Regions from separate parts of the Homo sapiens genome. Here region 1 is linked to region 2. Evidence: promoter capture Hi-C in 16 types of primary human blood cells and fetal thymus (Javierre and others, 2016). All regions are on one chromosome and are shown on one strand. The core of a region is centred on a gene start or on the middle of the fragment in contact, and the rest is flanking DNA. Distances in the headings are between cores, read along the strand shown. Region 1 overlaps CPED1 (cadherin like and PC-esterase domain containing 1). Region 2 holds the start of TSPAN12 (tetraspanin 12).

Region 1 (5,972 bases), core at 351-2,850, 240 kb after region 2:
TTGAAATAATCACTTGTTCCCTTTTTTGGTTTTTTTTTTCCTCAAAAACAAAACAAAACTTTATCAAGACACTTACCATCCTTACTTCCCCACATTGTTTACAATGCCCTCCTGGATTTATTTCTTTTATTATTTGAGTGTTTTCAATTTGAGTCTGATGTCCTTAATCTTTAATTCTAAAAATTTGTTTTCATGATTTCTTGAAATATTTTTGCTCACTGTTTTTATTCTTCCTTCTCCTGTTGACCAGATTTGATCCTTCCATTTCTATTTATATTATTTGGCTTTTCTTATCTGCTTTCTGGAAGCATTTCTGTTTTCTGAGACAGTTCTTCAATCTTATCTTTTGAATCGTACAATCTGTGTCCGTTTTTGCATTGCTATAAAGGAACACGTGAGGCTGGGAAATGTATAAAGAAAAATGTTTATTTAGTTCATGGTTCTGCAGGCTGTACAAGTATGGAACCAGCATCTGCTTGGCTTCTGGTGAGGCCTCAAGAAGCTTCCACTGATGGTGGAAGGCAAAGTGGGAGCAGGCATGTCACATAGTGAGAGAGGGAGCAAGAGAGATGCCAGGCTCTTAAACCAAGCTCTCCTGTGAACTAATAGAGGGAGAACTCACCACAGGGAAGGCACCAAGCCATTCATGAGTGATCCACACCTGCAACCCAAATACCTCCCAGCAGGCCCCACCTCCAACATTGGGGATCATATTTCAACATGAGATTTGGAGGGGGCAAATATCCAAATTATATCAAAATCCTTCTTACGCTATAGCTTTGTTGCTGTCTCATCCGTTGTTTCTTGTATTTCAGTTATTTATTTAATGCTGCATGTATAACTTAAATGCTCATGCCCCTTCACTTAAAAACTATGTATATTTTTATTTACTTCTGATATTTTTTACCATATTTCCTCTTTGTTCTTTTTAATGACTTCTTTTTCACATTTTATTTTGCTACTATCTTCCATTATTTCCTTGAGTATATTGCTGGCATGCTTATTTTAAATTCCTCATCTATCAGTTTTGGTAGCATGATATATATTGTTCAGTTTGTTGCCTTTCTTTTGAAGTAGCTGTATTTTTTGTGCATTCTCTATTTTGTCCTTTGAGCTTAAGTCCTCCTGCAGACATTATTTATTCCAGCTAGTATGATGTTTGGGGAAGGTCAGTCCTTTCAGGTGAATCCAAGGAGAAGGGACAGAATGTGCTCCAAACATGAAGAAACCACTTTTGGTCACTTCCCTTTGTAGCCAGGTAACTTCCCTGGTCAGAATTTCACCCCCTAAACTCTCTTAGGCATAAAAGCACAGGGAGGAAGCACATCTTCCTCCGTTATATGTCATCAAGGCTGAAGGTTGACAGACAGTAGGGTGGAGGAGTGAATGCCACATGTGACCAGTAACTCCATACAGTTTTTCCTCCTTTCTCCCAAGAAATTTAGCAATCTGAATCCTGGGCCTGGGCTTAGCATCCTTAACAAGGAAGGAACAACCAATAATTGCCCTAGAGGAAGACAGGGGAGAGTTAGGAGGAAAACGAAAATATTTTCCTTCAGCCTGTCCTCTCAAATAGCCTCCAACAACTCCCCTCCCCCAACTCCACTTATCCCTGACCGTGGCTACCACTGGTCAGACCAGTTCACAATAGCTCTAGACTCCCTTTCAAAGAGGTGTTTGTTATTTTTCTTTGTTATCAAATTCTTGCTTCATTCTCATTTCACCTGGGCTAGTGAATCATCTTAACAGGAAACTGAAGCTCTTAGGTATTTTAAATAATTTTTAAAGTATTTTTCCTCTTTGTATGTAAGTGCCGCTCCCCCTACCCTGATACAAATAACAGGCTAATTTTTATGATAGTTTTTATTTATGTATTTCCTGAAAATAAATGAAAAAAGAAATCTCCTTGTGATCTGGTTTTCTTTAGATTTTCATGCTTCATTCACTATCTCCTTTCTTATTCATATTTTTGTCTTTTCTGTGAGACAGATGCAAGCTGCGGTTGTAGCATAGGAAAGCATGCAGTTCTTGTCATTTTCATCCTCTCCTTGGGATTTATCTTTTCAAGATCTTGCCTGATTATTCTGGACAATACTGTTATCTCCTCAGAGGGAGGTAGTGCAGCTTCCTGGGTCAATGTGGAGAAAGTGATTGTTTCCTTACTAGTTCAAAGTTACGCTTGATGATACAGATAAGTTTCAGAAAACAAGAGGATATTTATTTACCCTTCAACTGATGTACTTGTTATTTCAGTTAAAACAAATAGATTATAACTCATCTGTTAAATTACTTAACCATCCTCAGAAATACTGCTTTCTACTGGTATTTTTAGATGTGAAAAAATACACAGAAACTTCTCACTGCTAATGTGGAGGACAAAACCAAACCCACTTTAAAAACTACCCACGCTATACCAGCATGTTATTAAACACTGTCCTTAAATTCCACAAAACATAATTTTGTGTGTGTGTGTGTATGTGCACGTGTGTGTGTACTGAGTACTGAATTCAAAGCCCAAATGACTTAGTTAAATCAGTAGTGATTTATGTACTGTGTGATGAGGCAAGCCCACTAAACTAGTTATCAGTGAACATTTATAGAACATTCTGGCAGCTAAAGAAGGTATGAAGGCAATAACAGATATAACTATGAGCTCATTTATTTCCAATTAGGTCTTCTGCTGAGATACTTTATCTGTTAAAGCTTTGGAGAGAGTAAAAAAAATCAAGAAATGCAAATTTGAGGAATAATGGAAAATAGAAGCTTTGTAAACTATTTTTAATGCCCTTCTACATAATAAAATATTTAAAAATTTTAGTGTTAGATGTTTCCCAAGGATGTTCAAACCTAAAATCAGAGGAAGTTTTGAAAGGGAAAAATTCGCAAATGTAATATTTGCTTACTATACCATTTGATCTGATTTTAAATCAACTCTATTTGTTGCTGTTAAGACAATATCATTTACTTGATGAGTATAATAAATCTAATTTTAAGAAATATTTTATTTTAAAATGTCTTCCCTTAAAAAGCTCTTAATTATAAAACTTCAGTTTGTATCTATAAATTCACGAGTAAAATTCTTTCACAAATATTCTAACTATAACTTTTGGTTAAATGCATCTATGTCTGTCTTAAAACACAGGTCATAAAGATTAACTGCAAGAAATGTCATAAATTTAAATTCGGTTCTTAGAGCAAAAAGTCACAAGTCATCCCTTCATCCGTTGTAAATCACAAAATAAGTTACCCAACAGAGAGGCAACTGTAATATCTGTAACTTTTTATGATGTCTGAAGATTCTTTGTACTTCTGACCATATTTGACTATTTTTATGAAAATGTATCGCTGAAGAGATTTGTGACTTCTGGCAGAAAAGCTTGTCCAAAGCCTTATTTTGTCCAGTCAAGACATAAATTAATTCATTGTTTGATCAGCCATCCCATATTTGAAGATGTTAGATTTGTTGCTATTCCATATTTGACATCAGATATAAAGTTATATGAAGATGATTCCTTGCATATAATCAGCTCCCTATAAATGTCTCTTCGATTGAATTGAATCAAAGGTCATTAAAAAAATTTTAACTGCATGAAGAAATTGCCTGAGTCTACTTTATCCCTAACTGCTATAAGCCAGCCACTCTACTTTGCAATGATATATACATGATATAGGTAAATATTATACAAATGATCATTTGTTTTCCAGTAAATGCAATAGACAGATGTCATAATCTGAATTTCTGGATAAGGGCCACTTTGATAGAGATAGGGAAATCTGGGATACCGTAGCCTTTTTTCAAGTCAGATTTGTAAGTTCTAAATCACCAGCTCTCTACCACCGCTGCACTGGCCTTCAGGGGACCATTCTTCCATCTCCAGTGCTTGCAGTTCCCTCTCACATCAATACAATCAGCAAATGTGCACAGAGGGCAGAGGAGAACTGTGGCAAAGAGAGGAATGGTGTTATGTACAAGATTCCTTTTAAAAAGATGCATATATCCCTTATTCATTTTGGAAATATGACACAGTTGTAGGGATGAAGTTAGCCTCATTTGTCGTCAATATTTATGCACTGCCTTTGATAATGTTGGGTGAGATTGCTTATATATTCCCAAGGTAAAAATGAGTAATGTCTTTGGAAGAAAGTATAAAGTGACAGTATGGTTTTTCAACCTTAGGAAGTGTTCTTCCCCTGATCTTCATTTTATGTCCAAAACTGCAGGCTACGAAGCAGACCTTGTAAAAGGCTTTTGACTGAGCATCTGGCCCTTCGCTAGGCCCGGGAGATTTATGTCAGCTGTAGAAAGAATGTGAATAAAAGTCTTCTCCTGAGAGTTTGTAAAAAGAGTTGACGTATTACTTAACCTACTTTTGCTTGAATTAAATTTTAAAATTGCATCAGGGTGTTCATTTTAAAGTATGATTTTATATAAATAGAAATTATAAATAACCAGCATGTAATTGAATAAACTTGTGACCAAAGCTGACTTACTTTAAAAACTTTTATAATAACTGCAAAGTAATCAGCCCACATTGATGTTAGATTGCACTAATACTCTTTATAGCAACTTTGTGTCTTTTTAAAAAGCAATTCATTCACTCATTCATTCATTCCTTCATTCCCAACTTGGTTCTATTAAAAGATTTGTCAAGTCATTTTGTACATTCGTTAATTCTGAAGGCTGAACTTGGATGATTATCCTAAATGTAAAGAAAACTATTCATTAATGATGATCATCTTTATCTGGCCAAAATGATAACTTAAGCAGATGACTCTAAGCCTCAAAAAGGCAAGCAATGTGTTTGCATTTCCAGAGCCTCACAGAGTTCCTGGCGCATGGCAGATGCTCAAAAATGTTTATCAGTGAATCGTTGTCTATCATCCTTATTTTAATTAAAGGTACCTCATTAATAATAACTTATTAAAAACTGCCATTTGGGGAAAATATGATTTAAGAGCAGGTTCTACAACAGAAGATAGTATTATGGATTTACATATTCCATCATTGTTAATTCAGGCATATTTTCCCTTCTGAACTAGGGTAATGAACGCATAGACATATGCAAATATAATTAACTAACATAATGCTTTATATAGGTAGATGCTATATAATGCTTTATATAGGTATACACATATATGTGTATATATGCCTACATATATATATATAATGTATTATGACAGTGTAAAGGTAAAACCTAACACTAATGAATAAATTTGCTAATTATTATTGCCTTTAATACTAGAAAATCAGTAGGCAAGTGTTAATTATATATCCAGAAAAATGGAGGTAAGCTAATACTCAGGGATTTCAGTGTGAAATCAGGTGAGGTAAGTTCATTCCTTCTTCCCTCCTTCTGGATGCTTGAAAGATGGAAAAGTTCCTCAATAGTACTTTGGAGGATAGAATGTATGTTTCCCTTCTCAGCTCCTCCCCTTCACCTGTCCTGTTCACAGCCTGCTTCTCCCTGGAGCCATCAAGGGAAGGTATATGCTGGGATGAGGATGGGACCCAGTTATGGACTTGAAAAGAGCAAGTGTTGTTTCTCTGAACTGGATCCTGGAAGTGTATTGCCCGTGAACTTCACAGAAGCTCTTAAAAATTAATCTCTGCGGGCTCTTCCTCTTTCTGCCGTTGCCCAGCACAGTAATGTCACTCTGATTTCTGTTACACCTTGCCGATAACAAGTTTATAAAATAAACAAGTGTTTAGAGTAAAAACCAAGCCTGGGAAAAGAGGTCTAGTGTAAGCAATCTTTCAAAGCACTTTAAGCGTCCATAGAGAGCAGCACCATCTTAATTTTTTAGTTTCTTATTATTTCTTTAATAGATGAGCCAGCTAAGCCGTAGAGATGTTCGAAGACAGAACAGCTGTATTCCCTTTCTTCACTACCCTCATGCAAGAAAGGATTGTTAAGATGGATCTTTGGGAAATGGACCATGAATTAAGGCAAAACTCCCTGCAATCTTCCTAA
Region 2 (5,397 bases), core at 1,339-3,838:
CTTGTGATTTTACATTTCCAAATGGTGAATTTAACTACCCAATGCTTTAATTTTGAGAAATTAATGCTTTAATGTTGAGAAAAGGAATGCTGCCATTTTAGATATTTTCAGATTACTCACTGAAGTAAGACTTAATTTATCCTTTAAAATGGGGCCATCTATAAGGTGCAGTTCAACCTAAATGTCATCTTCTAGAGACCACATGTAATAGCCCTATGAAAAAAAGGCTGGGCAATGCCAGCCAGTCAGCACGCCAGCCAGTCAGCCACATAAATAAATTGCACAATAAAATTTGTAACAGAAAATTTTGAATAAAATTATTAATAGAACACAAAAAAATGGAAAGAACAATTTGCTTAAGAATGGCAGCCTCCTGAAGCAACATTTACTGTTTAAATTGTTACATTTTCCTAAGTTTTATAAGTAATAATACGATTATTAATCATACTTTATTAAGATTTAAAGCATAAAAAGTCATTAACTCATAGGGCATAAAGATTTCCATGAGCTTGTTACATTTTATGTATTTTATTTCCTTAAATGGTTATGGGATTTTCCAAAAGCATACACACAATTCCTTAAACTTTGCCAACTTAGAATTAGTTACATAAAAATCACCCTTCAGACCGTATGGAATCCCCTAGACAAATCTACTCAGCCTTTCTGTGATAGGTTATCTGGGTGTGAATTCCACCACCACCTCCCCCTCGTCCCCGCCCACAAAAAATATATTAAGACTTGGCCCAACTAGATTTTACAGGCGACAGAGATGTAAAGAAACAATTTATGGCTTGCACAATTATCTAAAATTCCCGCAAACAAGCAGTTCCCTAAGTAGTATGTCATAATTTTCTTATCTATGAGTAGAAGCACGTGCATTTATTTATATCCCTAGATTAACTTCAAGTCTAATTTTACTGCCAGTAGTATCCAGGGGTGGATTTCTTTGTTCTAATTACAAATGGAACTTGAGCTAGATCAAAGGCATTTTAAGAAGGTCAAATTTTACTTCTCTGAAAAATAAAGGGTGTTATCCCATGTAATTAATTAATGCTTAGCCATGCCCTTTGGCGCATTATCCGGTGGCTGCAGAAAACCAGAGCCAGCCGTTCCCACCTGTTGGTGCAGTGAAACTTACTTACCCAAAAGAGCAGATTGAGGGCGTAGAGCAGGCAGCGCAGACACTTCACGGAATCTTCTCTGGCCATTGTGAGCCCCGTAAGGGAGAAGCCCCATCCTTTCACCACATCCTACTCCCAAGGGCAAAACGGCAGCGATCTGCAGGGGGCGGGGGAGAGAGAACACGGGACATCTCACCATCACGCTTCCCACAGCCTGCCCGTCCCTCCTCCACCCGCCCTCAGCAGGGTCCAGAGGGTCCCGAGGCCCAGTGCATTCGAGACATCGCCTCATCAAAAATCATTTGTTAAAATCATAATGGTAACTAAACTCCCAAAAGTTCCAAACCGGCTTCAGATAACACCTGCTGGGAAAAGAAAAGAGCAACTATCCGGATGAATGAAGTCGCACAGTAAACTCGCGTTCTCAGGGGACACGCGGCGGAGCCCTGTGCATTCTGATGAGACGCTCTTGAAAACCTCCCTCACTCCACGCCCCTCCTCGAGGACAGCTGTGCTCGGCACTGTCCTGAAGGTGAGAAACCACACTGCCCCCTACCCCGGACACGTCAGAGGCGCCACCGGCAAGCCCGAGAGAATGAGCGCCCTTCTAGTTAGGACAGTTCCTGGGCACTCCAACTCCGCACCCCTCTACCCCGTCCCGCAGCTCGGGTGTGAATGCAAGGGACTGGGGCGGCGGGGCGGGGGCGGGGGCGGGGGCGAGGGGGCAGCGCGGAGTTGAGATTCCGCCCGGCTACTAGGGTTTCTCTGGGAGAACGTGAGAAATGATGTTTTCGGCCCCAGAATGATGGATTAGCCTGGGACAGTGGGCGGGGGGCGGGGGGCGCCGGGGAATTAGGGCCGATGCAGCTGTGCAGACGCCGGGTTAGTCATTCAAACCCCGCTTCCCCCGCCCGGGACGCTCCCGCGACCCCTCGCTCAAAGCCGCCCGCGGAGCACAAAGCGAGCGCGGCCACCGACCCAGCCATCGCGTCCGCGCGCCCCCGGCAGGGCGCGAGGGGAAGCGCCGGCGGCAGGGAGCCCCAGAGCCAGCCCTTAAGTAGTTTAGCACACAGCGCGGAGGGCAGCCGCCGGCGGGCTGGCGGGACAGCGGGCAGGAAAGGCGACAGACGCGTGGCCACTTACCGTCGGCGCTGGGCCCGGTGCCCCACGCCCGCCTGGGGATAGTCGGGGACGCACGGCGGGGGCTCATCGGGGCAGGGAACTTCTTCGCGGAGAGCCGGAGGGCTGCATTGGCTTCAGCTGGAGACGCTTCTTTCTCTTCCTCTCCCCCCGCCGCCGCCGTCGCCGCCTCCTGGGAAAAAGAAAAAAAAAAAAAAAAGTCCTGGGCAGCAGTTGCTGGAAAGTCTCTGCTAAGCCACCTCCCAGCGCCGCTGTCCCTCCCAAGTCCTCTCCGAGTCCGGACGAGGCAGCGGCGGCAGCCAGGGCCAGCTGCACAAACTCTCAGCGCATGCTCGAGCCGCTGGCTGCCGGGGTTGGGTCCTAGTGGGTGTTTCTTGTCCCTCTCACCCAGCGAGAGTCCCCAAAGGGACGCTTCACCTCTGCAGGATAGGGTCCAGAAGATAATGCCTAGGAACTTGGGAGAAGTCCGTGCAGTAAATCCCTTTAAAATGGTGGCGTCGAAGGAATGGAGGCTGGGTTATAAGCATAGAGAAGCAGGCTTTTATTATATGATAATATTTGTGTTTGAGAAGGGGGGTGAAGGGGTGGCCCAACCCAATTCCTGCAATGAGAAACTAGTTTTCACAACCTTTATGGAGCCACCTCCTGTGATTTGTTATTAACATGGTGCCCTATGATCCTTCTTATTGCTTTGTTGCCCTCCCGGATTTTTTTTTTTTTAAGTTCTTTCCCACTTTCATAGTGCACTAATAGCATTTACGGAAACATCAGAGTAATCATGTGCAGTCTGACATGCAGAAGAGGAGGAAAGAACATTTTTAACTCTTAGAAGTAACTCAAGCTTTCCAAAATTTCTCACGATAAGATTGTTTTGAGTTAACTGGGTGATTTATTTTGAAATGTGTACATAGTAGTGGATCTTTGGAAAATCTAATTTTTTTAAACTAGAAATTCATGAAGTATTACACAGCAGGAGACCATCCTTCCAAAAGAATCTTCCCTTTTAGAAGACAGAAGTTTCACACTAAATAAAATGCCACTGGATCATATCCTCCACATAAAATGTGGATGTGTTGTGCTATGCCTCACAGTACTGCTCATTTCTAGGATTACTTTTGTGGGCACTGCATGGCAAATAAAACTTCACCAGCAAATATGAATTACCTGGAATACGAGCAACATCTTTGACCTAATAACTGGAGTCCTTGGATTTCCTTGCAGAAAAAAAAAAAAAAAAAAAAATGGAATCCTATGTCCATGACTGCCTGTCTAGAGTTAGTTGCTGCATGACTGGAGTGACAATAAGACATGCAGTCTCATATGGAAAAGTCAAGACCAAAAGACAACATGGTTGTCCTGGGTTAGGCTAGGAAAATTATTGGTAAGCAAGTCACTAAGCAGTATGTAAGACAGCAACCCAAAAGAGTATAAAGAAGTATAGCCATACACAAAAAAAACACCAAGAAACATGTCCAGTTATCCATCAGATGACTCCAACTCTGATAATGAAGCAGCTTCTAGAATACTGGGGAAGAGCAAAGAAACCCACTTTTATCCTCTGCCAGTTTCTTCTCAAATTAGGGTGCATGCCTATTTTAAGCAAAGGACTGCTGAAACAACCAGCCATCCAAATGCTGTTGGTGCCATACATTCCCCGGAGAGGTATAAACATCCCCGCATTGAAAGGAGTCCATGACTGCTATTAAAACTGAGAAAAAGAGTGCCAACAATTCCCATGTGTCAAAGCAGAGATCCTCTTCTACTCCTAGAAGGTAGTTAAGTGCCCTTTCCTTAATTCGTATACCTTTAAGGGTCAACTGCCTTAAAGTAATAAAATACTAGAGGAAGTTACTTTAGAAGTATGCATGTCCTCTTCTTCCTGGTAAACAAGAAATACAGATCCAAGATAAAGTAGTTGCTCAACGTCACATCTGTAGTCCAACCTAGATTCCAAAGTAAAATCCAGAATAATGGCTCTTAGTACTCTAGTTTAATGGTTCTCGAAATTGTTGTACACGAGAATCACTTGGAGAGCTTTGAAACAACCCTAATTCTCTGGCATGCCTGATACCACTTAAATCGGAGTCTCTGCAGGTGAGGCCTAGACACACAGGGTTTTCCAAGCTCCCAAGGTAATTCTAGTTTGCAGCAAAATTTGAAAACCCTGCAACGAGGGCTTTACAGCTGCCTAAAAACTAGCAAAAGGGTCTCTTTAGATTTCGTTGGATCAAATCCCTCTCCTGTGAGTCGATAAATTGGGATTATTATCCCCATTTTACAAGTTAAGAAGAAAACAGAGCTGTAGTTACTGCTCTAATATTCCTGATAAATGGTCATCAGAGACAGTGAATCAACATTTCAGTAGAGGAGACCTCACCACATTTGAGACATTGCAGTAATGGGCAGTTTTTATTGCTTAAACTTGACCATACCACCTTTTAACTTCTACCCTTCAACCTTAGTTCCGCCCTTGGAGTCCATGGCATGAGCAAGCCTTCCTCCCATATGACAGCCCTTCAACTACTTGAAGGCAGCTGTTCTTCCCTCCCTCTCCAATTCTTCTCTTTCCCAGAATTGTGGAAGCACAGTAAGACTTCACATCGCAGCTGTCATTCTGAGGGTTCTATATTTTTCTCTGTGAGATCTGTTTTTTTGTGTGTGTGAACAAAAGGAGGATAGAAATATCATAATATGCACATAAAAATTTGAATATGTAATAACATATTAGGAAAATTGTATGGTCTATTTACTACCCATTAGTCAGGAACCCAATTCTGTGGCCAGGTGTTCTCCAATAAGTATCATTTCAGTGGTGGTATCTACTGTGCCTCATGCTGAAGATACTAAGACAAGTTCTTACCCTCCAAGAAAAGGCAAAACTATCCTTTCTTATTATATAATAATAATAACAATAATAATGACATCAAAAAGTAATAAAATAAGCATTTACAAGGAATCACATACATGTCAGTCCCAGTGTCAGGAGTAAAACTCAGCTATATGTAAGAGAATACAAGTTCCTCACTCCGTATGGCAGCTTGTTTGTTCATATCTTATTCTATTCATTCTGCTAAAGTTGTGGAGAGAAAAAGGATAACACAGGAGTTTGGATGTATGAGTTGCTATTCCTTCTTAG

The links. Contacts are between HindIII fragments. The CHiCAGO score rates a contact against its expected background, and 5 or more counts as called.
Region 1: a fragment that was not itself captured here is called in contact with the fragment with the promoter of TSPAN12 in region 2 in 2 of 17 cell types (erythroblasts and megakaryocytes); the score reaches 6.3 in erythroblasts.

What each region holds. Positions count from the first base shown.
Region 1 is chr7:121,101,212-121,107,183 of GRCh38, forward strand. The region is part of intron 7 of CPED1 (cadherin like and PC-esterase domain containing 1); the gene reads left to right. Among named protein-coding and RNA genes, the nearest start is that of CPED1, 120 kb to the left of the region's middle. The HindIII fragment of the contact is 2,201 bases long and covers 501-2,701 here.
Region 2 is chr7:120,855,556-120,860,952 of GRCh38, forward strand. TSPAN12 (tetraspanin 12) reads right to left here and starts at 2,589. Exons shown (of 8, transcript NM_012338.4): 1 at 2,265-2,589; 2 at 1,143-1,278. The coding sequence starts at 1,208. It overlaps LOC124901733 (a long non-coding RNA gene), which reads left to right and starts at 1,280. Exons shown (of 2, transcript XR_007060491.1): 1 at 1,280-1,653. RefSeq lists silencers at 1,532-1,751, 1,944-2,243. The HindIII fragment of the contact is 3,134 bases long and covers 1-3,100 here.